5 separate regions of the Homo sapiens genome follow, and regions 1, 3, 4 and 5 are each linked to region 2. The links are contacts of gene promoters, found by promoter capture Hi-C in blood cells and fetal thymus (Javierre and others, 2016). All regions are on one chromosome and are shown on one strand. The core of a region is centred on a gene start or on the middle of the fragment in contact, and the rest is flanking DNA. Distances in the headings are between cores, read along the strand shown.

The links. Contacts are between HindIII fragments. The CHiCAGO score rates a contact against its expected background, and 5 or more counts as called.
Region 1: a contact is called between a fragment that was not itself captured here and the fragment with the promoter of WWC2-AS1 in region 2, in 2 of 17 cell types (megakaryocytes and erythroblasts). The highest score is 7.2, in megakaryocytes.
Region 3: a contact is called between a fragment that was not itself captured here and the fragment with the promoter of WWC2-AS1 in region 2, in 1 of 17 cell types (megakaryocytes). The highest score is 5.6, in megakaryocytes.
Region 4: a fragment that was not itself captured here is called in contact with the fragment with the promoter of WWC2-AS1 in region 2 in 7 of 17 cell types (monocytes, naive CD4 T cells, fetal thymus and 4 more); the score reaches 6.1 in monocytes.
Region 5: a fragment that was not itself captured here is called in contact with the fragment with the promoter of WWC2-AS1 in region 2 in 1 of 17 cell types (megakaryocytes); the score reaches 6.3 in megakaryocytes.

What each region holds. Positions count from the first base shown.
Region 1 is chr4:183,010,892-183,013,591 of GRCh38, reverse strand. No RefSeq gene overlaps it. Among named protein-coding and RNA genes, the nearest start is that of WWC2-AS2, 87 kb to the left of the region's middle. The HindIII fragment of the contact is 253 bases long and covers 1,288-1,540 here.
Region 2 is chr4:183,239,244-183,242,008 of GRCh38, reverse strand. WWC2-AS1 (WWC2 antisense RNA 1) reads left to right here and starts at 1,375. Exons shown (of 2, transcript NR_126473.1): 1 at 1,375-1,485. WWC2 (WW and C2 domain containing 2) reads right to left here. Exons shown (of 23, transcript NM_024949.6): 5 at 1,747-1,826. The HindIII fragment of the contact is 11,540 bases long and covers 1-2,765 here.
Region 3 is chr4:182,985,106-182,987,805 of GRCh38, reverse strand. It overlaps LOC107986327 (a long non-coding RNA gene), which reads left to right and starts at 1,772. Exons shown (of 3, transcript XR_001741935.1): 1 at 1,772-1,810. The HindIII fragment of the contact is 4,736 bases long and covers 1-2,700 here.
Region 4 is chr4:183,054,411-183,057,110 of GRCh38, reverse strand. No RefSeq gene overlaps it. Among named protein-coding and RNA genes, the nearest start is that of WWC2-AS2, 43 kb to the left of the region's middle. The HindIII fragment of the contact is 8,021 bases long and covers 1-2,700 here.
Region 5 is chr4:183,034,755-183,037,454 of GRCh38, reverse strand. LOC112268472 (a long non-coding RNA gene) reads right to left here. Exons shown (of 3, transcript XR_002959823.2): 3 at 1,851-2,458. It overlaps LOC107986328 (a long non-coding RNA gene), which reads left to right and starts at 326. Exons shown (of 2, transcript XR_007058409.1): 1 at 326-404. The HindIII fragment of the contact is 1,777 bases long and covers 439-2,215 here.

The DNA.
Region 1 (2,700 bases), core at 165-2,664, 230 kb after region 2:
GCCCCTAAACCTCTTTTCTGTCCCCATCTGGCTTCCCTCTCCATCGGTCAGTGAGCTCTGATTACGCTGCACTCCAGCCTGGGCGACAGAGTGAGACTTTGTCTCTAAAAAAGAAGAAGAAGAAGAAGGAGAAGGGGAAGGGGAAGGGGAAGGGGAAGGGGAAGGGGAAGGGGGGAAGGAGGAGGAGGAGGAGGAGAAGGAGGAGGAGAAGGAGGAGAAGAGGAAGAGAAGAGGAAGAGGAAGAAGAGGAGGAAGAGGAAGAGGAAGAAGAGGAGGAAGAGGAAGAAGAGGAGGAAGAGGAAGAGGAAGAAAAAACGAATGATGAAGGAAAGTGACAAGATTTCCGCTTCCAGAAACCCAAGTCTTGACTTTATCCACATGGAAGGTGTGGCTCAGAATGCACTTTTCTTGGTGCGCTTTTCTTCCTAGCTTAGGGCATTTCCTTCTATTTCGGGATCCGTGGGTAGGACAGGGGCTTGTGGGGGCCCCCCTGTCTTTCACTTGGCTGTTCAGATTCTGCCATCTTCAGGAGAGGATGGCCCTGCAAGTGGATTCAATTCAGTTTCTTGGCTGCGGAGGATGAAAAAGCAAGGAGGGTCTCAGGAACGGAGCGCAGCTGTTAGGAGCGGCTCACAAGGGAGGAGGAAGATGTTTTCTCTCAGATACCCGTCCCAGCCTGTCACTGCTCTGGGTATGGGACCTGGGGGGTCAGAGATACAAATGTGTCTAGGCAGCCAAAATGTCAAGCAATTACACTGTTCCAAGGGCGGAAGGTAAATGTGTATGCCACACACAAAATACAATTGTGCTGACGGCACTTGGAGAAATGAGTGGCTATCTTAGCCTAAGCCAGTTCTCAAAATAGGAATGCTCGCTTGCTGAGAATTGGAGGAAAACCACGAATTCACTTCAAGGTATAGCGCTTTGGCTTGCCGGAAAGTTGCTGTGAGTGGGCAAGGATGGGGGCATTAGGATTGGGGGCTTGGGGTTGGGGGCAGATCTGCTGAGAGAACTAATGACTTGAGTTGGAGTGAAAACAAGAATAAAAGACTTTGTATTCAATTTCCACTCCCTTGAAACACACTACCCTGTGGGAGCCATACATAATTAATGATATTACCATGCAACAGTAGGACTACAGAGATACACTAATATTGATGAATATTTTTTCATTTTTATTGCACTTTTCAAGTATGCCAAAAAACATTAAAAGTTCATAAAAGAAAATAACTTGGCTCCATCACGACTGATCTCATACCTGCAAATGAGTCCATGGTACCACAAGCTTACTAGCCATCTGCGCTTATTGGGACAGTCCCATTTTTCACTATTTGTGGTCCCAGATGTCTGGACGTTTCGGATAAACTCCTGGGTTTGAGTACTGGCTTTTACCAGAAGGAACAGAGTCATGGGAGACTAAATCCCATTTTATTCCAGAAATACTTTGAGGAAGGAAGAAGACATGGGTAAATAAGATGCTGACTTTGTCAGCTGATGAGTATTCATTAATATCAACCGATATTCATTGACCTCTTAAGCTTAAAATTTATCACTCAAATTGTAGCTAACATAGCGTGGACTACACAATAGCTGTGCTTTTGCTAGTTGGTGGTTCTACTGCTATAGCCAACCGTGCTGAATTTTTTTTTGCTCAGAAGCTGATGTATTTGGGAGGGAAATAGCTTTCTGGCCCTTTAATAAATAATTCTAGTTAGTCCTTTCCCATCCATCCCAAATCAATAGGAAGCACAGTCAAGAGGAACCCATCATCTGGTATTGAAAGGTAGATGTGCAGAAGTCCACCCATGTGTGATAGAGACAGAATACTCAGCAGATATTTCCCAGGCTCCCCTGCAGGCTCAGCCCCTGCAGAGGGGAAGTGGATAAGCCTCATTTCTGGACTGAAGTTGCACGTTGAATGGGTAAAGCCCGTGGTCATAAGCAAGCTGGTTCAATGACATGGAAGACACAGCTGCAGTCACTGGAACCGCGATGGACTTTGTGTGTGCTGGAAATGAACCTTCATGGCGCTAAGTCACTGAGTTTTCAGACTTTATCTGTTACCCTAACATATCACTGCCTACACACACTAGTAGACTGTTTATCTTTTTTCTAAAGCAAGAAAAACCACATATCAATAAACATTTACTGTGCCCCTATTATATGCAAGCGGACATAGCAGTGAACTCCCTCCCAGAAGAGCACTTTCTCCACGGAAGTCTCTGACTCATCGTTCACTGTTCCCATGGGTGACTGATGACATCCCAAACTCTGAAGGCTGGTGACAATCCAAGTCAGGAATATCTATCACCCACTACCCACATGTGTGGAGGAAGCATTGGCTCTGATGCCAGAAACTCAAATTAGCTTTTGATATTTAATGTCATTTAATCTTGTCTGTTTACTTATTTAAAATAACTGTGACTTTCTTAGTTTTCAGTATGCATTAAAGTACATTTTGTACTTGATGGAAGATTAGTGTCTCTTGAAACGTATCATGTGAAGGAATTTTAGACTCTTTTTCTTCCCCAGTTAGGCTGCCACCAAGCCCTGCTGCTTCCATCACAAACTTTCCAAAGCACTCTCATTCTTGCACCTTCCCCATCAATGGGCTAAATTCAAAAACAAACCCTGACTTTCGGGTATATAGAAAGGAGATGGTGGGCAGACCAGAGAAAGTTAGTCACCTTTTAAAATCTC
Region 2 (2,765 bases), core at 126-2,625:
ATTGACAGATTCTTAAACATGCCTTAGATTCCTATAAAAATTGCTTGCAAGCAAACTGCTTTGAAACAATACAGCATTGTTACATCAATATAACAAAGACAGCAAGTTTGGCTAACCTTTAATCCCAAATGGTGACGCGAGTTATAATTTCATGTGCCTTAAAAATGTGGAACATATGGCTAAACACGTTACGGCACTCTTCAAACTCTGTTTTCTCTCCCCACCCCCACCACGAAGCCCTGCTTTATGCTGATAAACAATTACTAAATAATGCATTTATGTCATTCTAGTTCTGCCTGGTTTATCGGGGAGCTCTGCAACCAGCTGAGGTTCTTACAACAGGGCTGGACTTGAGAAGCACTTGGGATCTCATAAAATATACCTGGCATAGAGACTAGAAACATTATTTTTCTAAGCACTCTCCAGATTATTCTAATATGCAGTCAGGTTTGAGAACCACTAGGATGGGAGCATCTGAAGGAGTATCAGGGTCATGATTCTATGCGGTAAGCAGGAAAAAAGGAGTCTGGATGATAACAGCACGTGTGAAATTAAAGTCATGCGTCTGACTGGTGGTCAAGAGCAGTGCCTGCGTATCCCAAGATATGACTAATCACCCAAACAAGAACAACCAGTTTGTTTATCTGGCCAGTGACACACAGGATCTTTAAAGGGGCTTGCTGCTTGGAGCATCCCAAATAAGAGCAGAAGGTAAAGTAAGATTCCACAGGGAAAAGGAACACAGCTGGGTACTTTCCACAGAGGTGGCGCCTGAGACCAGCTTGGCATTCCTGAGGTGCTACCACGGGAGATGCCGGGAAGAACACGAAACCTGCCTGAACACAAAACTGACCAGGGACATCCCTAAAAATACTGCACCGCACTTGGAGGCACCAAGCAGGAGGGAAGTTTTAACTCCTCTCCGTGGTCATGTGGCTGTGAAAACCATGGACTGCTTCTCTCCCATGAGAGGCCCTGTGGAGTGGAGACTGCAGGATTAGAAAGTCTCAGGTGTGCCTGTCACGGTTTGGATAGGCTGGGCCTCAGCAGCAGGGAGAACAGTGGCTTTCAGGGGCCGGGAATGCGGAAGGGATATCCTCATCCTGTGACCCTCTGTCACCTCCATTTCCACTTTACCTGGCCCAGCTTAGGGCTCTGCTAACGGCCCAGCCAACTTCAGTAGCAAACGGGAAAGGTAGAGGAACCAGGAAGTGAGGAGCGCACTCCCGCTCCTTTGCTAATAATCCTAACTTGCTCTTGCTCCCCTGCCATCTGTCAGGGTTAGACTCTAGGTCATCCCTGGGGCTGGCAGAGAGAGAGAGAGAGACAGACACGCCTCCACCCAAGGGCCCAGGGCAGCTGCAGGCTCACACAGGGGTCAAGTACAGCCAGCCCAGCCGAATGTGGAGAGGAATTTCTTGTGCCTAGTCTCTTAGCTCTGTACCACAATCTCAGAGGAGGCCAGCAAGGGTCCAGGAGATAAAGGTAAGACAAAGGCTTTTCACTTTGGTTTCTTTGGATCTCCAATGATTAATAAAAACTTTGGATCTTTTCAAGTGCATAGATCTTTCCCAAGTTTTTTTATCTGTTGGTTGATTGCTTTATTTTCTTTTGGTGTAGAGCTCTGAACTTTTTTACTTTACGTTTCTTTAAGAAATCGCTTATGTAATCTGTACTTCTATTTTCTTTGTATTCATACTAGTTAGGGAGCTTATTCTAAAGTTGATTCAGTCTTTTCATACTCACTGCTGCAATGTTTCAAAGCCTTGTTCTTTATAGAGCAGTTCCTGCTTCATCTGTGAGAGCTCTCTCTTTAGCTTTTTAACCTTTAAAGAGAAATCAACATAAACATTAATGTTTGCAGATAATTAGCAACACAGTCTACAGTTTTAAAAGATAATAAATTAGTAAACAAACACATAAACAAAGCCATGAGTTAAAGTAACATTTACTTTATCAGTTTCTCCTTCACATAAATTCTGTGGAAGGCATATTAATGATGTTTAAAACTATCAGTGATGTGTATTATTACTACTATTTACCTTCATTACCTTACTTAGCAACATTCTTATGAGCTGGACATCATCATTGTCTCCAACCAAAATGGGCAGAATAAGAACTCCAAGTCATGGCATCTCTATAAAAGTGTGTGTTTTTCCTTCATTCACTGTGCCAAGGGCCACTGCCCACCCCTCCGTTCCTCAGATGTCCTGGCAGTTCCTTCTGCCTGGAAAGCTCTCCCCAGATCTCCCGCAGTTGACTCCCTGTCCCTCCAATGCTAGCTGAAATGTTATCTTTTCAAATAGGACTTCTCTAGCCCCCCTGCCCCTGCCACGGCTCTGTTTTATTTAGACCAGAGTATTTTTCAGGAGCTGAAATTCTCCGTGTACACTGTCTGTCCTCCGTGGGAAAGTAAGCTGCAACCCACCAGCTGTATCCCAAGCATCTACAACCATGCCAAGCAAACAGCAGATGATCAATAAATATTTGTTGTCAAACTGATAAAATATATTTTTCCTGTTGTCAAATATATACTTTGGTAATAACAATTCTAAAATTGGACAGATCAGAAAAGCAGCACACGCCTGGTTTAGTCACAAACTAATAAAGGTCTTCTCACAAGGGTTAGAAACTTACTTCCATATATTAAGTTAGAGCCTTAAGTTTTTTTCTGTTGTTTGTTTGTTTTTTTTTTGAGACAGAGTCTTGCTCTGTCGACCAGGCTGGAGTGCGGTGGTGCAATCTCGGCTCACTGCAACTCCGCC
Region 3 (2,700 bases), core at 27-2,526, 250 kb after region 2:
CAGGTTCAAGCGATTCTCCTGCCTCAGCCTCCTGAGTAGCTGGGATTACAGATGCCCACCACCATGCCTGGCTAATTTTTGTATTTTTACTAGAGACAGGGTTTTGCTATGTTGGGCCCAACTGGTCTTGAACTCCTTACCTCATGATCCGCCTGCCTCAGCCTCCCAAAGTGCTAGGATTACAGGCATGAGCCACCTCTCCTGGCTGCACAACACTTTTAAATTACAGATTTAGTTTTGCTAATGATTGAGATTTTTTCTAAGTTTGTGTATTAGTTTGCTAGGACTGCCATAACAAAGTGACACAGACTGCATGGCTGAATCAACAGAAATGTGTTTCCTCACAGTTCTGGAGGCTGGAAGTCCAAGATCAAGGTGTCAGCAGGGTTGGCTTCTCCCAAGGCCCCTCTCTTTGGCTTGTAGTTGGCCACCTTCTCCCCGTGTCTTCACTCAGTCTTTCCTCGGTGTATCTGTGTCCTTATCTCCTCTTATGACACCAATCCTATTGGATTATGGCCCACCCTAATGATCTCATTTATACTTAATGGCCTCTTTAAAGACACTATCTCCAAATACAGGCATATTCTTAGGTACAGGTGGTTAGGACTTTAACATATGGATTTGGAGGGAACACAGTTCAGCTCATAATACGATGTATTCATCTCCTCTAGGTTTTCAAACGAATTGTCCCAAATTTGTTCATATCTTATAATCTGTTTTCTCTCCAGCCTCTAGAGATATGTGCATATTAATTCTTAATTAGTTTATATGTCTCTCTGTTTTTGTTTCATTAATCTTGCTGTTGTCTATTTTATTAGTATTGTCGAAGGCCAAATTTTTAGCTTTGTTGATTCTCTATCTTGGAACTATGTTTTTTATTTTATGCATTTCTGCTTTTATGTTTATTTTGTTGTTTCTTCTACTTTTGGGGGAATTATTCAGCTGTTTTTTTTCTTGCTCCATAAATTGGATGCTTAGGTCACACAGTTGAGACGTCTTTTCCAGTTTAAGCATTTGAGGCTATAAAACTCACTCTTAATACCATTATATCTCATATATTTTTAATATGTACTAGTTTGTTATTCTATTTTAAATATTTTATAGTTTCCATTAGAGTCTCTCGCTTCTGTGAAATTCTTTAGAAGTGTGTTTTGTATCTCTAAAGGTATGAGGATTTTCTACCTTTTTTGCTATTGATTTCCAATGTAATTGTCTAGCGGTTAAATAATACGTTCTGAACAATGCCAACCTGCTGGAATTTATTGAGGTTTTCTTAAAGCCTAGCATGTGGTCACTTCTCTAAATGGGTAAATGTATACTTGAAAAGAATATATATTCTGAGAGAGAGAGAGAGAGCGAATCATAGATCCTGATTGTCTATTGTGCTATTCTAATTTTTAACATTATTACTGACTTAAAAAAATCTGTCTCTACCAATTACTAAAACAAATGTTAGAAAAACTTCAACTATGATTGTGGATTTGTTAATATCTCTTGTAGCTGTCAATTTTTTACTTCATGTTATTTGAAACTATATTATTAGTTGTATAAATGTTGTATCTTCCTAATGAGTAGAATCTTAATCATTAGGTATAATATATGTCTAATATTACCCAGAATTGTTTTGGTTAACATTTACCTGGCATATCTTTATTCACTTTTTTGATTAAAATACATTTTTTTTATAGACAGAGTCTTGCTTTGTTGCCCAGACTGGAATGCAGTGGCACGGTCATAGCTCACTATAATCTCAAACTCCTGGGCTCAAGCAACCTTCTCGCCTCAGCCTCCTGAGCAGCTGGGACTACAGGTATGTACCACCATGCCTCGCTAATTTTTTTATTTTTAATTTTGTGGTAGAGATAGGGTCTCACTATGTTGCCCAGGCTATTCTCAAAATCCTGGTCTCAAATCATCCTTCCGCTTCAGCCTCTAAAAGCACTGGGACTACCGGCATGAGCCACTATGCTTAGCCCTTTTTTTTTTTAATTACTGTATCCTTATGTTTTAGATAAGTCTTTTATAAATATCTTGATTTCATATTTTTTTTCAGTTTAATAATATTTGTCTTTTAATTGGCAGGTTTCACTTAACTATTTTTTTATCTATTTATATTTGGATTAATTTATTACATCTTGTTGTATATTTTCTATTTGTTGTGCTTTCTTTTTTCCTTTTCTTCTTCTTTTTTTTTTTTAGACAGAGTCTTGCTCTGTCACCCAGGCTGTGCAATGGCACGATCTTGGCTCACTGCAGCCTCTGCCTCCTGAATTCAAGTGATTCTCTTGCCTCAGCCTCTCGAGTAGCTGGGATTACAGGTGCCCACCACCACACCCAGCTAATTTTTGTATTTTTAGTAGAGATGGGGTTTTACCCTGTTGGCCAGTCTGGTCTCGAACTCCTGACCTCAGGTGATCCGCCTGCGTCGGCCTCCCAAAGTGCTGGGATTATAGGTGTGAGCCACCGCGCCTAGCCTCTTTTCTTCTTTATGAATTATTTATTTTTCCTTCTCTATTAGTTTAGAAGTTATATTGTGATGTCTATTATTTTAGCAGTAACTTTAGTTACTTAAAATGCATGGTTAACAGTCTAAAATTAATTACTAACTTTACCTTCTAATAAAAAGATACAAGTTCTTATAAGGCTATAATCCTGATCACCCCTTCCAAATTCTACACTATTTCTGTCTAGTATTTTTAC
Region 4 (2,700 bases), core at 123-2,622, 180 kb after region 2:
TCCCAGCACTTTGGGAGACCAAGGTGGGAGGATCCCTTGAGGCCAGGAGTTGGAGACCAGCCTGGCCAACATGGTGAAACCGTATCTCTACTAAAAATACAAAAATTAGCCAGGCATGGTGGTGCGCGCTTGTAGTTCTAGCTACCTGGTAGGCTGAGGCAGGAGAATCCCTTGAACCCAGGAGGCAGAGGTTGCAGTGAACCGAGATTGTGTGACTGCACTCCAACCTAGGCAACAGAGTGGGATTCTGTCTCAAAAAAACAACAATAAAAACCCACAAAATACATATATAGTAAAATAGTTACTATGATGGAAAAAATTAATAAACATATTCATCATCTCACATAGTTACCCATTCCTCAGCCCCACACTATCCTTGGCCCCATCTGGTGACAAGTACAACTATAATCTGCCCATTTAGCAAAAATCCTGAATATAACACACTTTTTTTTTTTTTTTGAGACAGAGTCTTGCTTTGTCACCAGGCTGGAGTGCAGTGGCATGATCTCAGCTCACTGCCACCTCTGCCTCCCGGGTTCAAGCAATCCTCCTGCCTCAGCCTCCTGAGTAGCTGGGACTACAGGTGCGTGCCACCACGCCCAGCTAATTTTTTGTATTTTTAGTAGAGACAGGGTTTCACCATGTTGGCTCGATCTCTTGACCTCATGATCCACCCTCCTTGGCTTCCCAAATTGCTGGGATTACAGGCGTGAGCCACCACACCCAGCCTGACAAGGGATTCTTAACCAGAATATTTAAAAAGTTGAAACAACTCAATAGAAGAAAATCCCAAGTAATCCAATTAAAAATGGGCAATCAATCTGACTAGACATTTCTCAAAGGAAGACATGCAAATGGCCAACAGGTATATGAAAAAATGTCTAATATCACTAATCATCAGAGAAATGCAAATCAAAACTACAATAAGATATTAACTCACCCCAGTTAAAATAGCTTTTATTCAAAAGACAGGCAATAATAAATGCTGGAGAGGATGTGGAGAAAGGGGAACACCTGTACACTGTTGGTTGGAATGTAAATTAGTATAGCCACTATGGACAACAGTATGGAGGTTCCTCAAAAAACTAAACATAGAATGACCATGTGATCTAGCAATCTCACTGATAGGTATATATTCAAAAGAAAGGAGATCAGTATGTCAAAGAGATATGTGTACTCCCAGGTTTATTGCAGCACTATTCACAACAGACAAGACATGGAGTCGACCTAAGTGCCCACTAATGGATGAATGGATAAAGAAAATGTGGGGTATATACACAATGGAATATTATTCAGCCACAAAAGAGAATGAAATCCTGTCATTTGCAACAACATGGATGGAGCTAGAGGATACTATGTCAAGTGAAAAAAAGTGAGGCACAGAAAAACAAATATCTCATGTTCTTACTTATCTGTGGGAGTTTGGAAGAAAAAGTAAACTCATGGAAATAGAGAGTAGAATGATGGTTACCAGAAGCTAGGAAGGGTAGTTGGTCGGGAGGGGAAGGGTGGACAGAAAAAGGGAATAGTTAATGGATACAAAAATACAGTTAGATAGAAGGAATAAGACCTAGTATTTGGGAGCATAATAGGGTGACTATAGTTAATAATAATTTATTGTATATCTCAAAATGACTAAAACAGTGGAATTATAATGTTTCTAATACAAAGAAATGATAAATATTTGAGGTTTTGGATATTCTAATTACCCTAATTTGATTACTACACATTGCTTGTTTGTTTTAAAATATCACATGTACCCCATAAATATGTATAACTGTTATGTATTCATGTTAATTAAACATAAAAGATAATATATTTACTAGTCTTTAAGTGGAAGTTGGTCACCATAAAGGTCTTCATCCTTCTCATTTTCACATTGAGTAGGCTGAGAGGAAGAAAGAGGAGGGGTTGGTCTTGCTGTCTCAGGGTTGGCAGATACGGAAGAGGTGGAGGAGGTGGAAGAGGAGGCAGGAGAGGCAGGCACAGTAGGTGTAATTTTATGGAAATGCATTGTAACTTCTGCCTGACATTTTTGCTTTTTCGTTTCTCTAAAAATATTTGCATATGATGCCAATCATTTTTCCATCATGTGTTTTAGTGTCATTGCCTATATCATGGAAGGGTCTATGTTGTAAAAGAAGTCAAAAGCAGTCTTGAATAATCAAAACCCTTCTGCCAGATCATCTAATGCCAACTTGTTTTCTGGCACTGCCTCATTGTCTGGCGCTGGTTTGGAAGCACTCACTCCATCGTCGTTGTCTGTTGATTCCTCTAGGGTGGTGTCTGTTCACTCTTGAATTTCTCCTACATCAATATCTTAAAACTTTTTTTGGAGAGGCCAAAGTGGGCGGATCACCTGAGGTCAGGAGTTTGAGACCAGCCTGGCCAACATGGTGAAACCCCATCTCTATGAAAAATACAAAAAAATTAGCTGGGCATGGTGGTGCATACCTGTAATCTCAGCTCTGGAGGCTGAGGCAGGAGAATTGCTTAAACCTGGGAGGCGAAGGTTGCAGTGAGCCGAGATCGTGTCATGCCACTGCACTCTAGCCTGGGTGACAGAGTGAGACGCCATCTCAAAAAAAAAAAAAAAAAAAAAAAACCATAACACATTTTTTGTGTTTTTTTTTGTGTGTGTGTATTTTGTTTTTATTTTCCAAGATGCATATCTTGCAACCCTTTACTCTCCAGCTTTTT
Region 5 (2,700 bases), core at 78-2,577, 200 kb after region 2:
ATTATAACATGCTATATAAGTGGCATTACAGTGATCAAAGGTAAAGCAACACATATTATAAGGATAAGATAAAATTTGATTACATAAGCACCTTAGCAGGCCTTAGGACATAAGAGGCTTCATCCATTTCTTCCTCCTTCCTGAGTGCCTGCAGGAGATGAATGAGACACAGTTTCCGCTCCCACAGAGCTTGCAATCTTTTAGGGGCAACCGGGTACTTACGCATGACGCCAGGCAGACAGTGATGAGTGCCATGAGAGCAACGGCTGCCTCCTATAGGGACAGAAAACACTTTCTCTCTACTCTCTGAGTTTTCATAATTGACTCCAGGACAGTAGGCAGATGAACAGGAGAAAAAAACATGCACATTTATTACACGGATGGGAGCAGCACGAGAAACAAAAGTGAGTACCCAAAACCCAGTGAAATTGACAAGCTTATCTACTTCTTCATAAAGAAGAGGGGATCGGGCATGTAGGCTGCTTAGGGGAGAATAAGTGCTTTTTGGGGAAGACGAACAGGCGATAGCCTATGGCGATGTCTGTGAGTGGCCCGGACCCCCAGTCTCTTCTCCTATGATACAGTGAATCTTGTCTCTGGAGGAGAAACTGAGTTCCTTTTTAGATCTATCTTTAAGGAGACAAGGAAAGTTCAGGGACAGCCCCTCCCTGTGCTTAGGGGAGAAAGAGGAGCGAGACACAAGGGCAAGAGAAGGTCAGAGAGATCTTAGTGCTGAGGCCATTGCTGAAGCCTTCCAATCTCCTCCAGTTCAAAGTACTCTGCAGGCCAGAGCGCCATATGTTCAGGTAGCTTTTTCTGAGCCCCAGCAATGGTCGGCTGTGACATCCAGGAAGGCTCTGAAGAGGACGTGGCATTCACCTGGCTCTTGAAGGACAGGGAATACTTGAAAAGAAAAAGATAGACAAAGGACTCAGACAAAAGAAATAGTTCTCTTTCTCTCACGTAACACTTGGATAACTTTGCCAGTCATCCATCCCTGCCTTGAGGGAATTGAACAGAGAGCAGGCCAATTCGGAAGAAGAGATGAAAGTCTGTTGTGGAGAGCCCCTTAAGGGTCCTTGAACATGTAGGACCAGCCAGAGGATAACGGGGTGTGCAGGTGTCCATCTAAGCACCACAGCTTAGTTGGGAGCAATCTTGGAATTCCAAGCCTCAGATCCCCACAGCCCTTTCTTCTCATCCCGCCTCTGGCAATGCCTAAACAGGAAACAATCCAGGGGAGGCACCGGCCCAGCCCCTCCCACCCAGGGACAGGCGAGAGCTGGTGTGTCAGCCTGTATCTCCACACTGGTGCCCCTGCTCAGAGGAATTGATTTATTCATGTAAAACTATCTCCATAGCCCAAAGCAAGCTCATTTATTTATCAATAATTTGAAAAGGAAAGTAGAAATCTTTCATGGGACTACTTCAGAATATTTCATAATGTTACCTCCCAAAAACTGGGGCTTATTTGCCTGGTGAGTAACAAACGACTCTCCAGGAGAACTCAGATTTTGATCAATAGGCATTGTGTTACTTGGCACAAGTAAGACACACACGGGAAGTGTTCTCCAAAGCCGTATCTTCCCAAGGGAAAGTGACAGGAGGGTTTGATGGAGTGATAGAGAAGGGAGAGGTGCATCATGGCATGTGTATGGGGGGGGGGGTCCCAGTGGCCCAGACCCCCCCTCTACATGCCATGATGGGTCACAGGTTATGATAATAAAGCTATAGCTCCTCTAGGGGAGGAGGGCTTTAGCATGGCATGAAGAAACTTCACTGGGGTTCATCTATAAGTTGCTGGGGTCTGTCAGTTGCTGGTTCCAACCAGCAAGGCGACTGCATTCCACACAGGCTGCAGGGCAAGAGGCTGTAAAACAGGCTGCTTCCTCAGGTTGATTATTCATTTCCTAAAATCCCTGGAAACCCTGTCTGTCTGCTTACAAAAGTACAGTGAATCCTTCATTTATGTGATCAGAGTTCATAGTATCTCCAGTCTGCATGCTTCGGATGACCACTCTGAACAGTGATGTTGCTTATAGAGCCAAGGTACGGAGTTCTCCCAATCTGTGCTGCTTGGTCAATGATTGGCAGTAACTTCCCCCGCCAGGTTGATAGAGAACTGCAATGGGAAACTTGCCTTGAAGAACAGATTTCCCTAAGGGAATCAGTGCTAAAGAACTGGTACATTATGAACGTGTTCTTTAGCAAAGCTTGTAAAGTATTTCAGAGGCCAAGGTGTATCAGGGTGTCGACAGGTATGAAACATGTTAAAGGTCTTGAGTGGCTGATGGTCCAGATCTTGTTAGCATCTCTCCTTAGAAAGGCAAACTCAGGGCCCACCCTACACCTCGATTTCCAGGTGATGCATATGCAGGCTAAAGTTGAAGACGTCTTGGTTTAGATATCTTTGAGAGGAAGTCGTAAGTCACCCTCCTCAACCACCTAGGAATGTTTCCTAGGAGAAAGAAAGTTGAACATTGCTATTTTTTTTACTCTGATGTTAATGTTGATATCAAACAGGTCAAATATTAATAATTTTCCTTTAATATACTTGATTCTACTAGTTACACCATTTACTTATAATACCTAATGCAATGTAAACGTTATGTAAGTAGTTGTTACCCTGTATTGTTTAGGAAATAAGGCCAAGAAAAAAGTCTGTACATTTTCAGTACAGATGCAACCATCCATTTTTTT